Linked DNA regions of Homo sapiens: region 2 is linked to region 1. The links are contacts of gene promoters, found by promoter capture Hi-C in human tissues and cell types (Jung and others, 2019). All regions are on one chromosome and are shown on one strand. The core of a region is centred on a gene start or on the middle of the fragment in contact, and the rest is flanking DNA. Distances in the headings are between cores, read along the strand shown. Region 1 holds the start of CD40 (CD40 molecule). Region 2 overlaps CDH22 (cadherin 22).

What was found. Contacts are between HindIII fragments. The study calls those that stand out against the background at their distance.
Region 2: a contact is called between a fragment that was not itself captured here and the fragment with the promoter of CD40 in region 1, in 2 of the 25 tissues and cell types used here (liver and pancreas).

Annotation. Positions count from the first base shown.
Region 1 is chr20:46,115,395-46,119,840 of GRCh38, forward strand. CD40 (CD40 molecule) reads left to right here and starts at 2,920. Exons shown (of 9, transcript NM_001250.6): 1 at 2,920-3,000. The coding sequence starts at 2,950. RefSeq lists a cis regulatory region at 2,102-4,199, enhancers at 2,141-2,957, 2,723-2,782, 3,793-4,142 and a silencer at 2,699-2,918. The HindIII fragment of the contact is 12,179 bases long and covers 1-4,446 here.
Region 2 is chr20:46,282,019-46,286,464 of GRCh38, forward strand. All of the region lies in intron 1 of CDH22 (cadherin 22), which reads right to left. Among named protein-coding and RNA genes, the nearest start is that of CDH22, 24 kb to the right of the region's middle. The HindIII fragment of the contact is 8,751 bases long and covers 1-4,446 here.

The DNA.
Region 1 (4,446 bases), core at 1,670-4,169:
CTGATTTCAAGAGTTTCTGGCCTTTTGGTATCTGACCACCATTCTCAAGAGGCCACTGCAGCTTGAGGTCTGTGTTGAGATTACCAGCTTCGCACCCCCTGCCACCAACTCTTTGTCATGATTGGAGGCTGTACTTAGGATGAGAAGTTGCTGAACCCACTCATTCATTTATTCATTCATTCAGCACCCATATATTGGTGTCCTATTATGTACCTAGGACTGGGATAGATCCAGTCCTGCCCTCAGGGAGCTCACAGTCAAATGGGACCAGGCAGAAGGAGTTATGAGCTGGCATGCTAAATGCTGTGGCAACACAGGGGAGGAGGCAGGGTGGGATAGAGTACCTACCTCTGCCTCAGGGAGTTGGGGAAGGTGTAAGAGGAGGCAACATTTAAACTGTTTAAGAAAGGAGAAGGAAAGGAAGGAAACATCAAGAGCAATGAGATAAACCGTAAGGAAAAAAGATTGTGTGCCTGGGAAGTGGGGAGAGGCTGAAGCCAGTGTGCATGGGAGGACGTGGCAGGAAGTAAGCATAGAAAGAGAGGTTGGGGCTGAGTGAGGAAGGGTGTGCTTTGCCAGGATAAGAAATTTGGATCATCCTGAGGGTGCAGGGAAACCCAAAGAGGCTTTTATGCAGGAAAGTGTCCCAGTCGATCAGATCTGGAGTTTATCAAGAGAATCGCAGCAGTGTAAAGAGTTGCCTGGCACATAGTAGGTGCTCAATAAATCCTGTGGAATGAGAGAGGCTGTTGGGACAGTCCAGATGAAAGATGGCACCCTCTGAATTAGGGCAGTGGCAGAGGTGACAGAAAATAAGGGATGGATCCTAGAGGCAGAATCCACAAGACTTGCAAATGTGCCCTTAACAGCAGAAGCCATGAGAATGGGGTTAGAAGTGTCCTCCTCTTCCATCCTCCCTGATCTGTGAGGTCTGGCCTCTTGTCCTCTTCCAGAAATTGAGAGCTTGGAGGGTCATCACCTCAACCGTTGTCTAGTTCAAGCTCCTAAGTTTTCCTTGGAGAAAAATTTAGGCCTAAGGGAACACAGTCCTTCAGAGGCAGAGGCTGCACCAGAACCCAGGTGTTCCATGCTGCAAAGCAGAGTGTTAACACTGGTTCAAGAACATCTTGAGGGCCAGGTGCGGTGGCTCATGCCTGTAATCTCAGCACTTTGGGAGGCCAAGGCAGGCGGATCACCTGAGGTCAGGAGTTTGAGACCAGCCTGGCCAACGTGGAGAAACCCCGTCTCTACTAAAAATACAAAAATTAGCTGGGCGTGGTGGCGCCAGCCTGTAATCCCAGCTACTCGGGAGGCTGAGGCAGGAGAATTGCTTGAACCCAGGAGGCAGAGGTTGCAGTGAGCCGAGATCATGCCACTGCACTCCAGCCTGGGCAACAGAATGAGACTCTGTCAAAAAAAACCCAAAAACCAAAAACCAAACAAACACCCAAAAAACAAAACGAAACAAAAAACAAAAAAACAAAAGCACGTCTTCAGAGTTCATGAACCCAGGAAATGTAGGCACAAGTGTGTGTGTTTCTGCAAAATGAGAGGGTCCCGAGTTTCCTAACATACTTAAAGTGTTTTATGATGCCACAAAAGGCTGGCCCACTCTTTTTTTTTTTTTGAGATGGAGTTTTGCACTGTCGCCCAGGCTGAAGTGCAGTGATGTAATCATTGCAATCATGGCTCACTGCAACCTTGACTTCTTGAGCTCAAGCGATCCTCCTGCCTCAGCCTCCTGAGTAGCTGGGACTACAGGTGTTTGCCACCATGCCTGGCTAACTTAAAAATTTCTTTATTTTGTAGAGATGGGGGTCTTGCCATGTTGCCAGGCTGGTCTTGAACTCCTGGCCTCAAGCAATCTCCCTTTTTGGCCTTCCAAAGTGTTAGATTACAGGCGTAAGCCACCGCGCCTGGCCCCCACCTTTATTTTTATTTTTATTTATTATTTATTTTTTTTTTTTTTGAGACTGAGTCTTGCTCTGCCTTCGAGGCTGGAGTGCAGTGGCACGATCTCGGCTCATTGCAATCTCTGCCTCTGCGGTTCAAGCGATTCTCCTGCCTCAGCCTCCCGAGTAGCTGGGATTACAGGCGAACGCCACTACATCCGGTTAATTTTTGTATTTTTAGTAGAGACGGAGTTTCACTATGTTGGCCAGGTTGGTCTCGAACTCCTGACCTCAAGTGATCTGCCCGCCTCGGCCTCCTAAAGTGCTGGATTACAGGCGTGAGCCACCGCGCCCGGCCCCACTCTTAATAAATGCCTGTCTCCAGGTGCTGGGTGGGAGGTGGGATGGAATGGAATGAGGTGAGGACGCATGGATGCATGGATGAATGGATGGGAAGTTGAGACGACGCGCCCACACGAGGGAATTTCCTTTGAAAGAGAGCGAAATTCTGAGTTGGGAAACTCTTCCTTGAAACGCCTCCCCATACCCCAGCTGTGGCCTTCCCGTTTTCTGCGTGGTGGTGTGGGGGGAACTTCCTCAGGCCTCTCCGCAGTGGAGCCTCTTTCGGTTCTGCCAGGATACCTAGAGGCAGCGGAGAGCGGGGCAGGGAGGGGAAAACCGTGAGGGTCCCTGTGGCAGGCCCCAGCACCCATGGGATCTCTCTCCGGTCGCAGGAAGCAGGCTAGCTCCTAGCCCGCCTCGGCTTGGCCTTTGTGGGACCTGGGGGCAAAGAAGAAGAGCTGTCTCTGGGACCATGCCTCCTCCCGTACACAGCAAGATGCGTCCCTAAACTCCCGGGGGAATTAGACTTGTGGGAATGTTCTGGGGAAACTCCTGCGCGGTGAATTGCTGGGGGCTCCGCCCCCCCGATAGGTGGACCGCGATTGGTCTTTGAAGACCCCGCCCCTTTCCTGGGCGGGGCCAAGGCTGGGGCAGGGGAGTCAGCAGAGGCCTCGCTCGGGCGCCCAGTGGTCCTGCCGCCTGGTCTCACCTCGCTATGGTTCGTCTGCCTCTGCAGTGCGTCCTCTGGGGCTGCTTGCTGACCGCTGTGAGTTGTTTTTGCCCCGACCAGACGGGAGTTGGGAGTGGGGAATGAGAAGGAAAGGGAAGGAAGACTTCGGGGAAGAGGCCTTCCTGGCTGATTTTTGTGGGGGCAGGAGGGTGGGTGGGAGCTGGGCAAGGTGCCCCCGCTCCTGGCTGAATGGGGTGGGCTGCCTCTCTCTTCTCCCGGGCTGGGGTCCCGGGAGCGGCCTACAGGGGCCGCTCAGGGAAGGCACTGGCTGCCCAAGCGTGCCTAGACGGCCTGGACGGGTTTAGGGAGCCTCAGAGGCTGGCCACACAGAGACTGGTAGGGGGTTCAGAGGGCGGGAAGTGAGGCGGACCAAGGGAAGGGGCGGGTCTGGCCCGTTTCCTGTCCCCTTCTTATTGTGGACAGATGCCAGCCTCTGTAAGTAGTTATCATCTCCTTGCCAGCTGGGGCTGCCTTCTTCCAGGGCATCTTGTGGGAACAAGAGATGGGTGCAGAGGCCCAGGTACTTTTGTGAGAAGGCAAGGAGCTTTTAACATCGCCTTCCACCCCGAACCGTATCTTGGGTGTTCCAACCTAGGAGGAATCCCCAGGGCTTTGCCTTTTTCTCCTGAATTTAAGATGACATAGGAGACCCCTGGGGAGATGAACAGTTTATGGGACACAATAAAGGGTTAGGAGACCAGAGTTCTGGTTGGCTCTGACAGGGCTGGTGATCAGAGGGCTGGAGAAACCAGGGGTTTCTCCAGGCACCAGAGGGGCTCAGAGCCAACCAAGCATATCTCCGGGATTTTCAGAAGCCTACACTTGACTCACTTTTTGTTTAAATGTATTTTTGTAGTTCCTCATTCTGGAGGCTGGGAATCCCCCAAGTACCTGGCTCCTTCATCCCAGCCCCTCTGGCCTCCCCCTACTTTAGAGGGCTGTAGATTCCTGCCTGAAGCCTGGGCAGGAATGACCCATGGTATCAAGGAAAGCAAGGGAAGCAGCAAGGGAAGAGAGGGAGTGGGGAGGCTGCTTTGGTCCCACAGCTTTCACTTTCACCTGAAGCAATGGCTCTTAGGGAACAGGGAGGCAGGGGGAGGGCGGAGCTGGAAAGAGGTAAAGGGGGGCCCTTGTGGTAGGAGTGGAGAAAGAGCCAGAGGAGGTGGGGTGAAGGGTGTGATCCAGGCTTCTCAAGAGCAGAGTTTGCCCTCATAACTCCCAACTTTGGCTCCAGGTAGAGGCTGGGCTGTGACAACAATGTCAGAAGCTATCTATTGAGGGCTTCTTGTGTGTCAGGCTCTGAGCCAAACACTGCCTGTTTTCTTTGTCTGATTTCTCACAACTCCCCCATTATACAGATGGGCAAATTGAGGCTCAGAAAGGGGGATTGTCTTGCCAAAGGTCTCATAGCTAGCTAATGGAAGAACCTGGTTGTGAATCTACATCTGCATGATTCCCGAGCCTGCCTCTCAGATAGTGAGA
Region 2 (4,446 bases), core at 1,226-3,725, 170 kb after region 1:
GGATCTAAGGTCCACTATGACAGCTTTCTCCTATCACTAGACTTGAATACGAATACCTTCCTTTTTGTCCCCAAAGATACCGATACTGATGAGTCTGATGATCATGCTTCATTTATTCATTGAAAAAATAATTATTGAGTGCCTGCACCATGGTTGGCAAAGAGGGAAGAGAATGGTGGTAGAACAGGATAGACAAAGATCCAGAGACAGAAATGAATACAACGTGCCCAGGATACCCTGAGTTTGGCAGGTTAGATTCCACAGTAGATTTGCCCGGGGGGTGGGAGCAGCACTGGGGAGAAAGGGGTCTCTACACACAGTGGGTGGAGATGCATGGGGCCAAGTGCCCTGAGAGAGCAGGAAGGAGTCTCGCTTCCTTATTTATTACCTCTGGGCTCTCAAATGCATGACTACTAGGCAGAAGTGACAAAATAAAAAGGGAAAGGAAAAAATGCCAGCTACAGCCAGAATAAAATCAGGGCAAATAGAATAAAACCTGACAGCCAAGTGTAAATAAATATTCGTAAAAGAGTTAAAGGACAGATTAAAATAAAAACACCAAATGCAATTCTTACCCCTTGACAAATGCAGTGCGAATTGGGTTCTTTTAATCAAATGTTTGGCAGGTGTATGAATTATTTATAATTCAATATCGGGTGGTTAAATGGAAAATGGAAGATGTTCCCGTCGTCTTCTCAGAGCTTATCCGCCTCCCCCAGTGAGTTCTCCCCCGGGGGAGGGAAGGGTGGGTGGGTGATTGCCCCTCCCCCATACCAGGTGCAGGCCTGGACGCTGGAACCCGTAATCCCTGCCTAATTCTGGGCGTCACCATTTGTCAACTTGCTCCCTCGTCACAAGCCTCCTTGCTGCTCAGAGCTTTGTTCAGGAAGGCGGGCTCTTCAAAGCTAGGGACAGGAGTGGGAGCAGCTGGCCAGGTCTAGGGGAGCCTGGAGTCCAGAGACCCAGGTTCATGGCCCAGGGCTTCCACAGACTCTGTGCAGCTCTCGCCTCTTCCTGGCCCTCCTCCACTGCCATCCTTTGCTTCCACATCCTTTCATTTTTGTTTACAGCATGCAGTACGGCATGGGGTGCCCCCCACATCCAGTTATGGCAAGAAGCATAACTGTCTCCATTTTACAGAGGAGATGCCTGGATGTACCTCTGGTCACACAAGTGGTGCAAGCTCGAGTTGGGGTTGGAACCTATGTCTTCAGCCTCCAAGTGCACTGGGAATGCATTCTGGGAGCAGGGGGAGGTCTGGAGTCTGAGTAGAGTGGACAGGACATGAGCTCCAGAATTACACAGACTCAGATTCCGATTCCAGCTGCGTGACCTGGGACACGTTCCCTAACATCTCTGGTCTTCCACTTTCCCATCCGTACACTGCAGTAATGATAGGAACTGCCCCCGGGGCTATGGTGAGGATGAAGAGGGGGTGGAATCACTATGCGATGCCTGCCCTCCATGGAAGCTGGATATTGCTGTCATTACCGTAGTTACAAGAAATGACCCTCATTTTACAGATGAGAAAACTGAGGCCTGCAGTCACAGAGACTTCCCCATAGTCATTCAGTGAGTCAGCGGCAGGGAATCCAGACCTCTAGGAGCTTGGCAGACCATGTGTGTCTGGCTCATGCCAGCACCTCCCCAGGTATCCACCCACCCCTGATTCTGAGTTGGATGTCTACCCTCCCCACCCCCACCGCCATCACCAAAGAGTCCCAGAGAGCAGCTTCACATGGAGTCCCGGGCCTTTCTGCACTTTTCTGCTCCCCAATCCATTTCTCTGTTTCTGTCTCACACACACACATATGCACACACACCACACGCATACACACACCCCGTGAGCCAAAGCAGGAGCGGAGGATCCCACCACAGCCAAATGTTGCCTGACTTCCCTGAGCAGCAGATGAATGAGTCCTCACAGCTAACAAACGGCTGTCGGAAAGGTGGGAGAATGAAGGTAATTAGTCCCCTTAATGCCGACTTCAGACTAATCTTTCACACTTAAGGAAATTGTTCCAATGATTTTCTTATTTTCAGGGGAGCTCGTTAAGTAAGAATTAGAAAAATAGATATGGCAGGAGATAAGAAAATGGATTTTGTAGTGACAAGCTGCCTATACACACCGAGAGGGGGCTGGCTGGCCCGGGTCTGACGCACAGACCCAGATCTTCCTGGAGTGCATGACAGGAAGGTGTGCCAGAGTCCCTGGGCAGGACAAAGACCACCAGGGGGACAAAGGTGATCAGTGAACCCTGATTGCAGTTCGTCTTTGCACCCAGACCATCGTTCTCAGCCTCCCTGCTCCTAAGCCCTGGCTGGAAGAAGCGGTTCACAACTTTCCTCAACATCTGGAAAGAATGATGTCTTTGCAGGGACCCACTGCAGAAAATTCAGACCTCAACACCTTCTGGGATCTTTGGGGGAAGCCAAGGAACATTTATTGAATCCCTGCTGTATGCAAGCTGCTGTGCTGGCTGCTTTCTCTCCATTTCACCTGACAGCCCCAGGAGGTAGATGTACAGAGGTGGAGGTGCAGACTCAGAGGTGGGGCCGATGTTCAGCTAGCCCTGTCAGTTGTTTTCAACTGTCACCTGTTCTGATTGATCAGTGAGTATGCTGGTCCAGTGGCTCAGTATTTTTAATATTTCTCTTTGTCATGTGAGCCAAGGCCACAGGGCTGTAGATTCCCATCTGAAACTGGAACCCATGGTGTCTGACACCAAAGCACGCCATTTCTGTCCCTCCAGGCCGCCTCTGTGTAAGGAGTCCCAGTGGGAAGGAGGCATGGAGGGGATGACTTGGAGCCAGGAGAAACTGTCTCCTGCCGAGATAGTGCAGCTTTACTAGGTGGGAAAATGGGAGGGAAAGTCTGAAAGGTGTTTGTCCTTCTGGGATGGGCACAGATCATTTTTCCCTCACTCCTCATCAGCACTCATTCCTGCCTCTCCATCTCTGCTCAGGCTTTCCCCCGACCCCCAACCTGACCACTGTACCCAGTGCTGATCACTCCTGGTCTTCATTCATCCCCAACAGCCCCAGACTTCTCTTTCGCCCCTGTACCTGGTGGGGACTCATTGGTTCCCATGTTTAGCTGCATTCTGGGAAGCTTGCCTTTGCATGTGCCGTGACCATCCGGTCTGTGGACCAGGTTGCAGCATTGTTAGCAGAACTGCCTGGTGATTGGCTCTGCCAAAGGAGAATTGTTCTCGAACAGGCCAAATGGGAAAACGAGACTTTGTGAAAATGTCAACATGACATTTTTCCTGGGTCACAGGCCAAGTCTCCCCCACTCCCCCACCACAATGTAGACCTCTGCTGTGCAGAATTTGTGTGTTTGGAGAAAGCCCCTAGTGCAGTGCTTCTCAACCAGGGGGGACCTTGCGACCCTTGGGACATTTGCAACGTCTGGAGACATCTTCGCTTGTCACAACTGAGAGGCTGCTACTGGCATCTAGTGGGTGGAGGGCAGGAATGTTGCTAAACATTCCAAAGTGCCCAGGACACCTTCCCCCCAAACACCCATACACAAAATAATTATCAAACCTAAGATATCAGTAGTGCTGATGTTAAGAAACTGCCCTGCGGTCATCTGATCCAACGTTCCCTTTAAGCAACTTACCTCAGAGTTGGGGATAGAATCCAGGTCTCCTGACTGTTTCTACCACTGAGATTAAATGATGGAAAGGGAATTGGACCTCTGAGGCAAGATTCAGGGTTCAGACACCTTTTGTTTTCAATTTGACACATATACATTGTGCTCCTGTGACATACCAGGCATTGGACAAGGTGCTGGGTACTCAGTGGTGGATTAAAATATATACAATCTCTGCCCGTTTGGGACTCCCATGTAGTGGATTTTGAGCTGGGTGACCTTAGGCATGTCTCTTCCTCCTCTGAGCCTTAGTTTCCTAATCTCTAAAATGGGCACGACAGGCTGTCTGTCCCAGCATTTTTGTCAGGCCTTCAGGAATTTAAATGTCAAATACAATTGTAGATTCTCGATAAACATTTAAGTGGATTGAATGCTTCTCCTTCCTGGAGAGGGCTGGCAGGTGGTGGGGAGAGTTTTTCTACAAGGAAAAGAGAAAGGGGAGAAAACTAAGACATTATGGAGCACTTACTGTATGCTTTTCATGGGATCTTCCTGTCAACCCTGGAAGGCAGGTGTTCTCTTACTCAAAGAGAAGATGAGGAAACGGGGGCTCAGAGAGGGAAAGGGACATGCTCAAGCTGGATTTGAACCCAGCTGCCTGGCTCTTTCAGCTCTCCCACTCTGATGCTGGGCAGGGAGTCGAGGTCCAAATCTGACCACGCCTGGCCCTCAAGCCTTATTCCCCAGCATCCCCCGGGGTCTCAGTCTCACCCCATTAGCGCTGCTTTAAAAAGTGCGGACCGACCAGGGCGCGTTATTGCCCACATAAATCAGGCAGCTCCAAGTAT